Regions from separate parts of the Homo sapiens genome. Here regions 2 and 3 are each linked to region 1. Evidence: promoter capture Hi-C in 16 types of primary human blood cells and fetal thymus (Javierre and others, 2016). All regions are on one chromosome and are shown on one strand. The core of a region is centred on a gene start or on the middle of the fragment in contact, and the rest is flanking DNA. Distances in the headings are between cores, read along the strand shown. Region 1 holds the start of CD200 (CD200 molecule). Region 2 has its middle 3.3 kb from the start of GTPBP8. Region 3 overlaps RMP64 (ribonuclease MRP subunit p64).

Evidence for each region. Contacts are between HindIII fragments. The CHiCAGO score rates a contact against its expected background, and 5 or more counts as called.
Region 2: a contact is called between a fragment that was not itself captured here and the fragment with the promoter of CD200 in region 1, in 1 of 17 cell types (activated CD4 T cells). The highest score is 5.8, in activated CD4 T cells.
Region 3: a fragment that was not itself captured here is called in contact with the fragment with the promoter of CD200 in region 1 in 1 of 17 cell types (activated CD4 T cells); the score reaches 7.6 in activated CD4 T cells.

What each region holds. Positions count from the first base shown.
Region 1 is chr3:112,331,861-112,335,315 of GRCh38, reverse strand. CD200 (CD200 molecule) reads right to left here and starts at 2,160. Exons shown (of 6, transcript NM_005944.7): 1 at 2,092-2,160. The coding sequence starts at 2,103. LOC105374042 (a long non-coding RNA gene) reads right to left here. Exons shown (of 5, transcript NR_147411.1): 5 at 2,562-3,130. RefSeq lists enhancers at 1-82, 579-1,535, 1,536-2,493. The HindIII fragment of the contact is 4,002 bases long and covers 1-3,235 here.
Region 2 is chr3:112,985,954-112,989,375 of GRCh38, reverse strand. No RefSeq gene overlaps it. Among named protein-coding and RNA genes, the nearest start is that of GTPBP8, 3.3 kb to the left of the region's middle. The HindIII fragment of the contact is 2,477 bases long and covers 92-2,568 here.
Region 3 is chr3:113,002,355-113,005,632 of GRCh38, reverse strand. It overlaps RMP64 (ribonuclease MRP subunit p64), which reads left to right. Exons shown (of 9, transcript NM_015412.4): 9 at 1-3,189. The coding sequence ends at 97. Among named protein-coding and RNA genes, the nearest start is that of GTPBP8, 13 kb to the right of the region's middle. The HindIII fragment of the contact is 1,036 bases long and covers 1,054-2,089 here.

The DNA.
Region 1 (3,455 bases), core at 911-3,410:
AACCCAAGATGGTTCAGCTGCCTGAATACATACAGCCTACAAAGATCTGCTCACCCTGCCCATCCACTGCTGGGTATTATACTCACAAAGGCTTTGGTTTTGAAGTGAAAAAAAATATATAACTCGATAATTTTCTCAGTATTACTGAGACTGTTCCATCCTATCTAATTATCTAGGAAAGTCAGAAAAAATCAGGCCAAATATTTCCTCAGGCTCCATTGCCAGTGCCCACCCAACACATTTTGTTTTATTTTCAGCTAAGGCAATTGTGGAGACAGATACTGGCATTCCAATTCTATGTGATATTTTTTAAACCATTAGGCTTCTCTGACGTGGAAATCCAGGCTCTACCAGAGGCCATGATGAAGAATGCAGAATGGACAAGCTCTCATAGAGAAAATCTGTGTTTTAGGACAAGAGAGAAAGCAGATACATACCAAACCATATATTGTGGACTGGGAGCCAGCAATGTTAAGAAACAAAACACAGTGATTGAGGCAAAGGAAATCAGAAGGAAAGCCTTACTCTTAAATAGATACGTATTTTTATTTTACAGGTTTTTTTTTTCCTCGAGTCTGTGCAGAATAACTGAAAATACGACCAATCTGAAAACAACAGTATTTATATGTTTACAGGGAGGTGACCGGGGCTAAAACAAATACTAGATTTGTGAGCAAAAGAAATCATTTTACCTCTCTGAGACTCCGGAAAAGTAATAGTACCAATCTAATGGTTAAAAAGACTAAATGAAGTAGTATATAAAGCTCCTAGAATACTGCCAGTAGAAATAAGCACTAAATAAATGTTGCTCTTATCTCACATAGTTATTATGAGAATTAGGCAATTAAAGCACTTAGTATAGAGCCTAGGTTATAGTAAATGCCAATACGTGTTAGGTAGCTAAAAAAATTAATCGATCAAATCATATAGGGGGAACTACAGTCCTGAAAACAAAGAAGCCCACTTATAACCCTTGCCATGCAGTCCAGGGTTCACAAAAACCTGGGTCTTACCAGACAGCTGCCCACCTGGTAGCTATATTGCCCCTATTCATGCCTCTTCCTCAGCAAGTTTCTATGTCCAAATCCACATTACCCCACATGTAGTCACAAGGACTTGGAAATATCAGCCTTTCCGCCTGTTTATGTGTAAAACGAGGTAATAATTCATTTTTAGAAGGATAGTTACAAAGAAGATTAACAGCATCTAGCTTGCAGTAGACCGTAGCTCACAGACCACCATTCTCCTTTGTTAAGAAAGACAGTGAAATCATTGGCTATGTGGTCTTGCCAACAAACCATACATGAAAAAATTATCTTGAGGCATTCACTGTATTTGGATTCTTATACCAATACCATTGTATTTGGATTTCATATACCAATGGGATATATGAAAACCTTCTCCGTTTTTTGTCTTGTAAGCTGGTTCCGAATAAACAAAATGTCTGTTTCTCTAGATACCCGGGGTTAACCCTTCAAAGCATTATGATCACAGAGCATTTCAGCTCTCTCAAGTGTAGCTTCAGCTTTAACTGATCCTTCATGGCTTCCCCCAGGCAAGGGCTAGGAGGGAGAAAGGGGCTGCATAACAAAGAGGAGACGCAGGAGCTCTCCCGGAGAAAGCGAGCCTGGAAATCTGTATCTCCGCCGCAGCTTTTGGTGCCAATATGGAACCAATACAGCATTTCTCTTTCCCTTTTGGGGGCAGTTTAAAATAGGCTGTGCCTCCCCAGTTTTGGGAGCTGGAGCCAGTGAGCCGAGCCGAGCCTGCCCGGAGGATGCGCCAGCTTCGTCAGCGCGGATCAAGAGCCCCCGGAGCCCCGGCCTGGTGCATCTTTTTTTCAGGCAATTGGAATGGAGAATCTGGACGCCAGCAGCTGCCTGTAAACCACCCTTTGGAAGGCAAAATCCGTTTCTCAGCAAGAGAAAGCGCTTAGAGAAAAGCGCTGCCATCAACACCGCTGATCTAGTCCCCGGACCAGATTGTGGCAAGAGCCGAAGCTCCGCGCCTTCCACTCGCCGCCCGCCCCAGGGCCACCGGCTCAACATCGCCTGCCCTGCGCCCTCCTTCCCAAGCCCCGGCCCCGCTCACCAGCCTCTCCATCCTTGCTCCTGGAGGCGCGCGCGAGGTGGCTGACTGCGGATGTGCGCCTGGAGCTCTGCTAGGCAGGCGGGAGGAGCGTCACCTGTGCCCCTGCCGCACCTCCCGCCTCTTCCTCCTCGCTAGCCCCCTTCTCCCACTCCGTTTTCCCCACGCCCTCACAGGAGCGGAGGCTGTCTGTGTGGGGGGAATTAAATGATGTTTATATTCAGCTTTGTCTATTTTCAGACATTTTTCCCTTTTCAAAGGTGACCGCTGGGGAAACTGACAAAGTGTTTGGAAAAAAAAAATCATTTTTTTTTTTCCATTTTCCTGCTACCTGGACTGAGAAAGGAAATGAGGTGGGAGGTTGTGGAGATCAGTTGTTGACCTGTTAGCTCTTGATGTAGTGGCAAAGGATTCAAGCTGAATTTAACCAATGGACTTTTTTTTTTTTTTAAAGAAAAAACTTACATTTATTATTTTTAAATCCAGATTCAAATTATATATTTAAGCAATTCCGTAATGATTTCACCTTTCATGATGTGATCAATTCTTTGGTGAAGAGTTTCCTTCCACTTGCATTAATGATGAGGATTCTTTTTTCCCTTCTCCTTCTCCTTCTTCTCCTTCTTCTTCTTCTTGAGACGGAGTCTCGCTCTGTGGTCCAGGCTGGAGTGCAGTGGCGCTATCTTGGCTCACTACAAGCTCCGCCTCCCGGGTTCCCGCCATTCTCCTGCCTCAGCCTCCCGAGTAGCTGGGACTACAGACGCCCGCCACCATGCCCGGCTAATTTTTTGTATTTTTAGTAGAGACGGGGTTTCACCATGTTAGCCAGGATGGTCTCGGTCTCTTGACCTCGTGATCCGCCCGCCTCGGCCTCCCAAAATGCTGGGATTACAGGCGTGAGCCACTGCGCCCGGCCCTCCTCCTCCTCTTCCTCCTTCTCCGTCTCCTTCTCCTTCTCCTTCTCCTCCTTCTCCTTCTCCTCCTCCCCCTCCCCCTCCTCCTCCTCCTTCGTCTTCTTCTTCTTGTTCCAGAGTTCTTGGCTCTTAAAAAAAAAAAAAAAAGGACAAAGAAATCATCAAGTGTTCACCTCCTGAAGGCTTTTGTGTTTTACTACTACCACCCTCTCATAAGGAGCTGGGACAAAGCTTTGGGGTTTTGTTTTTGCTTCTTTTTACAGACAAAGTCTCGCTCTGTTGTCCAAGCTGGAATGCAGTGGTGCGATCATAACTCACTCCTGGGCTCAAGGGATCCTCTCACCTCAGCCTCTAGAGTAGCTAGAATGATAGTTGTGCAGCCACTATGTCCAGCTTTTTTTTTTTTTCCAGACACGGGGTCTTGTGTTGCCCAGGCTGGCCTGAAATTCCTAG
Region 2 (3,422 bases), core at 81-2,580, 650 kb before region 1:
AATCATTTTGGATTTCACCTGATAGGACAAATCATTTTAGAATTATTTGACAGGACAGTTTTTGCAACAAATTGTCTTGTCATGCAAAGCTTGAAGGATCAAACGGTCTACTGGAAAGAAGTATGACTAGTAAAACCACTTGACAATTTATATATTTTTTTCTCTTTCACTTCATCTTTTAAAAGCATCTGTGTAAACAAAGCATATAAAACTTCAGGATGATTTAGAGTTAATAATACACTATGTTTTCCCTCAACATGATTAAACTCATAATTTGCAGAAGTTCAAATATGAAACATACATAGCAGTGAGACCTACTAGTGAGACAGGTGAGGGCTAGAATTGGGAGGAATTAGTTTATAATAACCCCATTGTAGGGCTGCAGTGGAAATCATCTGGTCTACAGGGAATTATCAAAGCCCAGGAAAAGAGGCTCACACCTGTAATCCTAGCACTTTGGGAGGCCAAGGCAGGAGGATCGCTTGAGCCTGGGCAACAAAACGAGACTGTCCCTAAAAAAATAATAAAAACAAAATTAGTATTGAAGGGAATCAAGTCTGGTGGATAGGATGTTGTGACAGGACTTTCTGGGTTCTGGCAATAGTACTGTGAATCTGTTGTTGTTGGCAGCATCTTGGTTCGAGGTGGTCTTTTTGTGTGTGGAGTAGGAGCTTAGCCAATAAGTGTAGATTGGGAGTCAGGATCTAGCCTGCTAGATCAGGACTAGGTCAGGGCTAAGATTCAGAATAGGGTTTTAGTCCAAGTAGGGAAAAGAAGGACTGTAGATTAGAAAATCTTGCTGTCTAATATGCGCCTCCCATTTCCTAGGTCCAAAACAGAATTTCTAATATCCTTTAATTGTCTCCTAATCTGTAAGAGACAATGGCACCTCCATTCCTCCAATTGACTTAGCTGAAAATCTTGGGAGAAAATTCTGGACTCCTTTTTCTGTTACCCCAAGTCCAAGTTGTTAGCAATCCCCTTGGCTTTACCTTGAAAACATATCCTGAATTGGATACTTTTTAGCACATCCACTGCCACCACCCTGATACAAGCCACCATTATCTCCCACCTAGATTATTGCAGTAGCTTTCAAATTGATCACCCACCTTTGCCCTTTGCCCCCTTCAGTATATTTGCAACATGGTGATAGGGAAGTGGGGCAGGGAAGTGGGGCAGGGAATTGTGAGGAGAAGGGCAGGTCCCTGGCTAGAGCTCCACCCCCGGCCTGTGCCCACGGACCTAGGTGAGGACAGGCACTTCTGGCTTTGTGCCCAAATGTTGCATTTCCCAAAGCCACCCAGGTCTGCCACACCCCCATCCTGTGCCTATAAAAACCCCGACACCTAGCAGGCAGACACACAAGTGGTTGGACCTTGAGAGGAACACCTTGGTGGAAGAAGACACGAGCTGCTGGATGTCAAGAGGACGTCGAGGGGAGCAAGCTGCCCACCAGCAGGCCATTGACCAGTAGAATGATGCAGAGTTTGGCCGGGGCGGTTGGAGGGCTGCTGAGTGGCTGAACTCCTGGGGAAAACCATCTCCCTTCTGGCTCCCCTATCTGCTGTGAGCTACTTCCAGTCAAAACCATGCACTCATTCTCCAAGCCCATGTGTGATCCGATTCTTCCAGTACACCAAGGCAAGAACCCAGGATATAGAAAACTCTTTGTCCTTGTGACAAGGTAGACGGTCTAATTAGCTGGTTAACACAAGCTGCCTATAGATGACAAAACTAAAAGCGCACACGGTAGCAGATGCCCACTGAGGCTTCAGGAGCTGTAAACATCCACCCCTAGATGCTGCCGTGGGGTCGGAGCCCCACAACCTGCCTGTCTGTATGCTCCCCTAGAGGTTTGAGCAGTGGGGCCCTGAAGAAGCGAGCCATTCCTTGTCACATGCCCTTCGAGCGGGACAAGAGTACTTTTCCCATTTCAGTGGCAGCAACCATGATCCTGTTAAAACATAAGCTAAACCTCCAAGAGCTTCCTGTCTCACTCATAGAAAAAGTTCTTGCACTAACCTAAAAAGCCCTACATGAACTTTCATTTTCTTCTTCCACTCTTGTCTGACTTCATCTATTGTTATTTTTCCCCTTTTCTACTCCATTCCAGCCACACTGGCTTCCTTGCTGTTTTTCAAGCAAGCCATATACACACACCTGCCTCTGTGTCCTTGTACTTCTCCCTGGAATGCTTACCCCAGATAATCACATGGCTTATTCCCAGTTTGACTTAGGATGTATTTATGGCCAACCTTCTGAGAAAAAGTGCCTTCTGTTTTGATAACGAGGAGGTAGTTTACCACAAAGTTAACAAGGTTTTAAAAATTTAATATGACTTTGACAGGCGTTACTTTATACATCATCCCCAGAATCAGCTTTTATTGCTAAAATTCATCTGCCCTAAATGTCATAGTTATACTCTGTCATGCTCAGCTAAGAATAGAAGGAAGATAGGTAGGACAGGATCCTCTCAATTGTTCTTACTGCGATGTCTGCCTCTATAGTGAATGGCCATTAGGTCCAGAGTGATCCCAATTTATGTCCAGGTCCTATAGGTTTCAAGCTTATGGAATCCATCTAAGACATGAAGAAGGTAAACTTTGTAGGCCTAGATAGGTAGGGGCACTGGGAACATCAGATAACTCCCATCCTAAGTTAAACATGGTTTGAATGTCCTGACAGAAGCAAGAGCAGGGACTCTAGCAAAACTTACTTCTAGAAATAGAGAGAGGGAATGGATTAGGTCTCAGTGTCTGATTTCCACTAGACCTTTCTTACCCTGACTTTTCTGCTTGTCTTAACAACAATAATGAACATTTATTGGGTGTCTGCTATGCCAGGAATTTATCTGAGTACTGATAAACTATGAGAAAGACCTGGTTACATTCCAATTAGGATATCAAACTCTTGTATTAGGAAGAAAATATTGGGAGAAAGGAAGATGAAAGAGGCTTTATATGAAGGAGCATGATATGGGAGAAACTTCCACATAAATTACTTAAATTGTGATGACTACTATCTGAATGAATGATTTAAATTTAAAATACAATTAATTATATTTTTCTTGAGTTTTCTGTGCAACATTCATTTTAAAATTTTACTTTAGATATTACCTGACACATTGACACAAATTTGTGGCACAACAAGTTTGATTTGTTCACCTAATTTCTTTCTTTTTTTTTTTAGAGACAAGGTCTCGCTCTGTTGCCCAGGCTGGAATGGGCACAATCATGGCTCACTGTAGTCTCAACCTCCTGGGCTCAAGTGATCTTCCTGCCTCAGCCTCCTAAGTAGCTGAGACGACAGGCACTCAACCACCCTTGGCTAATTTTACAAAGTTTTTTTGTGTGTGTGTGCTTTTTTTTTTTGGAGAGACAGAGTCTCACTATGTTGCTGAGGTCAGTTTTGAACTCCTAGCC
Region 3 (3,278 bases), core at 322-2,821, 670 kb before region 1:
TTCGTGGACGGTGATGCAAATAAATAAAAACAGTACATCAGGAACCATTAAGGAGACAGATGACATTGATGATATTTTTGCTTTAATGGGAGTTTAGATGTTCGTTCATATGTGAGACTTTTAAGTGATTAACAAGGCTAGTTCAGTGTTCTAAGTAGAACTGCTAAGATCTGGAAGTACCACCTGGACTCACAGAGGAGCTGCTTTAGTGCAGCATTGCACAGGAGTTCATTTCAGTTCAGTCTACATTTAAAGTAGCATTGTGTCATTTCATCAACAAGTATTTCTTTTTTGGCTTCAACTACATGTCAGGTGTTAATATGAAAAATCTGCCACAGCCTACCCTTGAGAAGCAGATGTAATTCCTTGAGTGAGGCTAGTAAGTCTCTGAAAAACTGAATAATTTTATGACTTACTAGGCAATTTAATAATCGTTTGCAAAAACCATTGTGTCTTGAGGTAAATGAGGAGCGGGGGTGGGAGATAGCAAGGAAACACCTGAAAGGTCAATTTGGTCTTATTGGCTCCATTATACATAGGTCCGCCTCTGAATACTAAAGTTTGTAGCTCCTGACATTTATGTTTTCTTGTTTATATGTTGGAATTGATCAACAAGGTTTGCCACTGCTTGTATTACCAGGGACTGGTTACAACCATTATTTCTCTTCATTTGCTTGGCTTATCTCATATTAAAGTGAGTTTGGAGTTCTCCAAAACGTTTTAATTTTATTTATTTGGGTACCAGTGATTGATTCCAAATAAACCTTTTTACAAAAAGGCAATAAGGTGGTTTATGGTTACATATGAAATATAATAGGATAACAGGTAGATGAGAAAGTAAAATGAAAAAATGAGGTTAGGAGATACAAAGTAGACCCAGGAATGAGGCTAGAACATTTATAATTTGGTGTTGATGCTGTCATCTGATAGGGGATGTTGCTCGTACTGTTGCTCTGAGGGGAGTACATCTTGAGTATTTTCAAATAATGATGTGAAGTTTGAGGTAGGTATCTTTCCAATGTTCTAACTTTACTAGAATTAGGTTATTAAGCTTCTCTAGTGCCCTTAACTTTTGTTACATAGAGATTTAAAGAAAAAGAAAGTAGTACCTTAGTATGTACCGCATCCTTCTTTTCCTCAGCCACCCTATCATAACAGAAGTTATTTCCCTTCCATTCTTTATTTGGCTTTGTTCTTTCCCTGTCTGCCTTCTCCATTTTCTCAGTTATCTCTACCAGTGGTTCTCAAACTTTAGACTTTTTGAGAATCACCTGGTGGGTTGCTAAAAGATGCAGATTAGCCCTTTCCCAGAGACTGATAAACAGGGGCCAGAAACCTGCATTTTTAACATGGAGCCCAAGTGATTTTGATCCAGGTGGCCCCCAAATCCAGTTATATAAACACTACTTTAGCTTCTCTCCTGAAGCCTTAAGTAAACTGGTTTAATTCTTAATCTGTAGTCAGTTTTCATATTCCTTTTGGCTTTCTACCAAGTGGTAGTATCCATTTAGTGCCTTAAAATACAGACAATACCAAGGAGATTTCATTCTAGACAAGTCTAGAAATGGCCATTAACTTCTAAGTGTCCTTGTGTTCAATGAATATCCTTTACCTATTGGGAAATAGAAGGTAAATTAGTAAGAGAACTGGTGTATAGCTTTGTGGACCATAGGGCTTATTTGCTGAGAGTTGTCTATATTCATGCACCCAGTCCCCTAAGTAGCCTCTTTTAATACTTCATTTAGCTGATTCAGAAAAAAACTCCCTGGGAATTAGGAGATTTAAGGTTCAGTCTTGCTTCTCCTACTTGTGGCTTCACTGAGCTAGTCAGTTTCCTCAGGCTTAGGTTTCTGGATTTGAAGTGGAATTTTTTCAAGAATGAAACTTTTATAGCTGAAATAAACTTTGGAGCTTATCTTTCATTGGAAAAACCAGGGTGGTTCAGTGAGTTAAGGACAATATAGCATGGACTGGGCTGCCAGTCTAGCATTTGTTTCCAAATTCATTCATGTTCTTTTGGAGTATCTTCATCTCCTCTCATTTTCCCATCTTCTGCCCTTTACTATTCTGGGAAAATGGCAAAAAAGCTTCACATGTGTCCACAAAATGACAATTTGTATGTTTATAAGGAATTCAGTATTCTGTATCAGTTACTTTTTCCAAATAAATCCAAATATTTAACATTTAAAAAAATGCAATCTAAAGTATACCAAACTGTAACTTACCTAGTAAATGAGATTAGAAACTATTGTCAGGGTCATCGTAGTGAATTATTATTATTATTATTTTTTGAGACAGAGTCTTGTGCTGTTGCCCAGGCTGGAGCACAGTGGTATGATCTCAGTTCACTGCACCCTCCACCTCCTGGGCTCAAGCTATTCTCCCACCTCAGCCGCCTGAGTAGCTGACACTATAGGCACCACCATGCCCTGGCTAATTTTTTAAAAACTTTGTGTAGAGATAGGGTTTCACCATGTTGCTTAGGCTGGTCTCAAACTCCTGGACTCAAGGGATCCACCCACTTTGGTCTCCCAAAGTGCTGGGATTACCCACATCCTAGTACCAACTTTATCACTTCTGATGGCATTAGGACACACAGGCCATTTATAAGAGCAGTGTTTGAGACCTCCTGTGTGTCACTTCCAATCCTCTTGGCCTTCATACTAAAGTCACTGCTGTGGCAACCAGTTTCAAGCAGGGCTGAACCTTGCCTCTTGCTCTGGGGATGTCTCACTTCCTGCCCCTGGGCTTCTCACCAGCTACAGGAACTGCCTAGCACTTGGGTATGTACAACCTGGAAGAGGTGTGGGGCCACCCCATCCCCTCCTCAAAGAAATTCACAGGCACAGTATGAGGCTAAAGTAACTTCCATCTTGGATGCTAATCTACCATGTTGACTTCTGATAACCAGTTCCTGGAATGCCCTCTAAGATTTCTACTTTTATCTATTAAAAGAACACACACACACACACACACTGTAAATCCTGGCCTTAAGCAAGTTATAGGCTAAGTTGTAAACAGCATTCTTGCCTTTCCCTGAGGAGGTGACTTCAGTGTCTCACATGTTCCTTCATGTACCCCCTTTTCTCTATGGCATATAAGCCCTGGGTCGGGGGGTAACTGTGGGGATCACTGCCTGAGACATGGCTTCTGTGCATAAGTCCCTATTAAATGTTTCTTTCTGACAAACTGGATTTGTTGGCCTCTTTCTTTGGCATCTCAGCACTCTCAGCCTTTGGGGGTAGGTTGCATAGACCTGGTCACTATACAACACATAT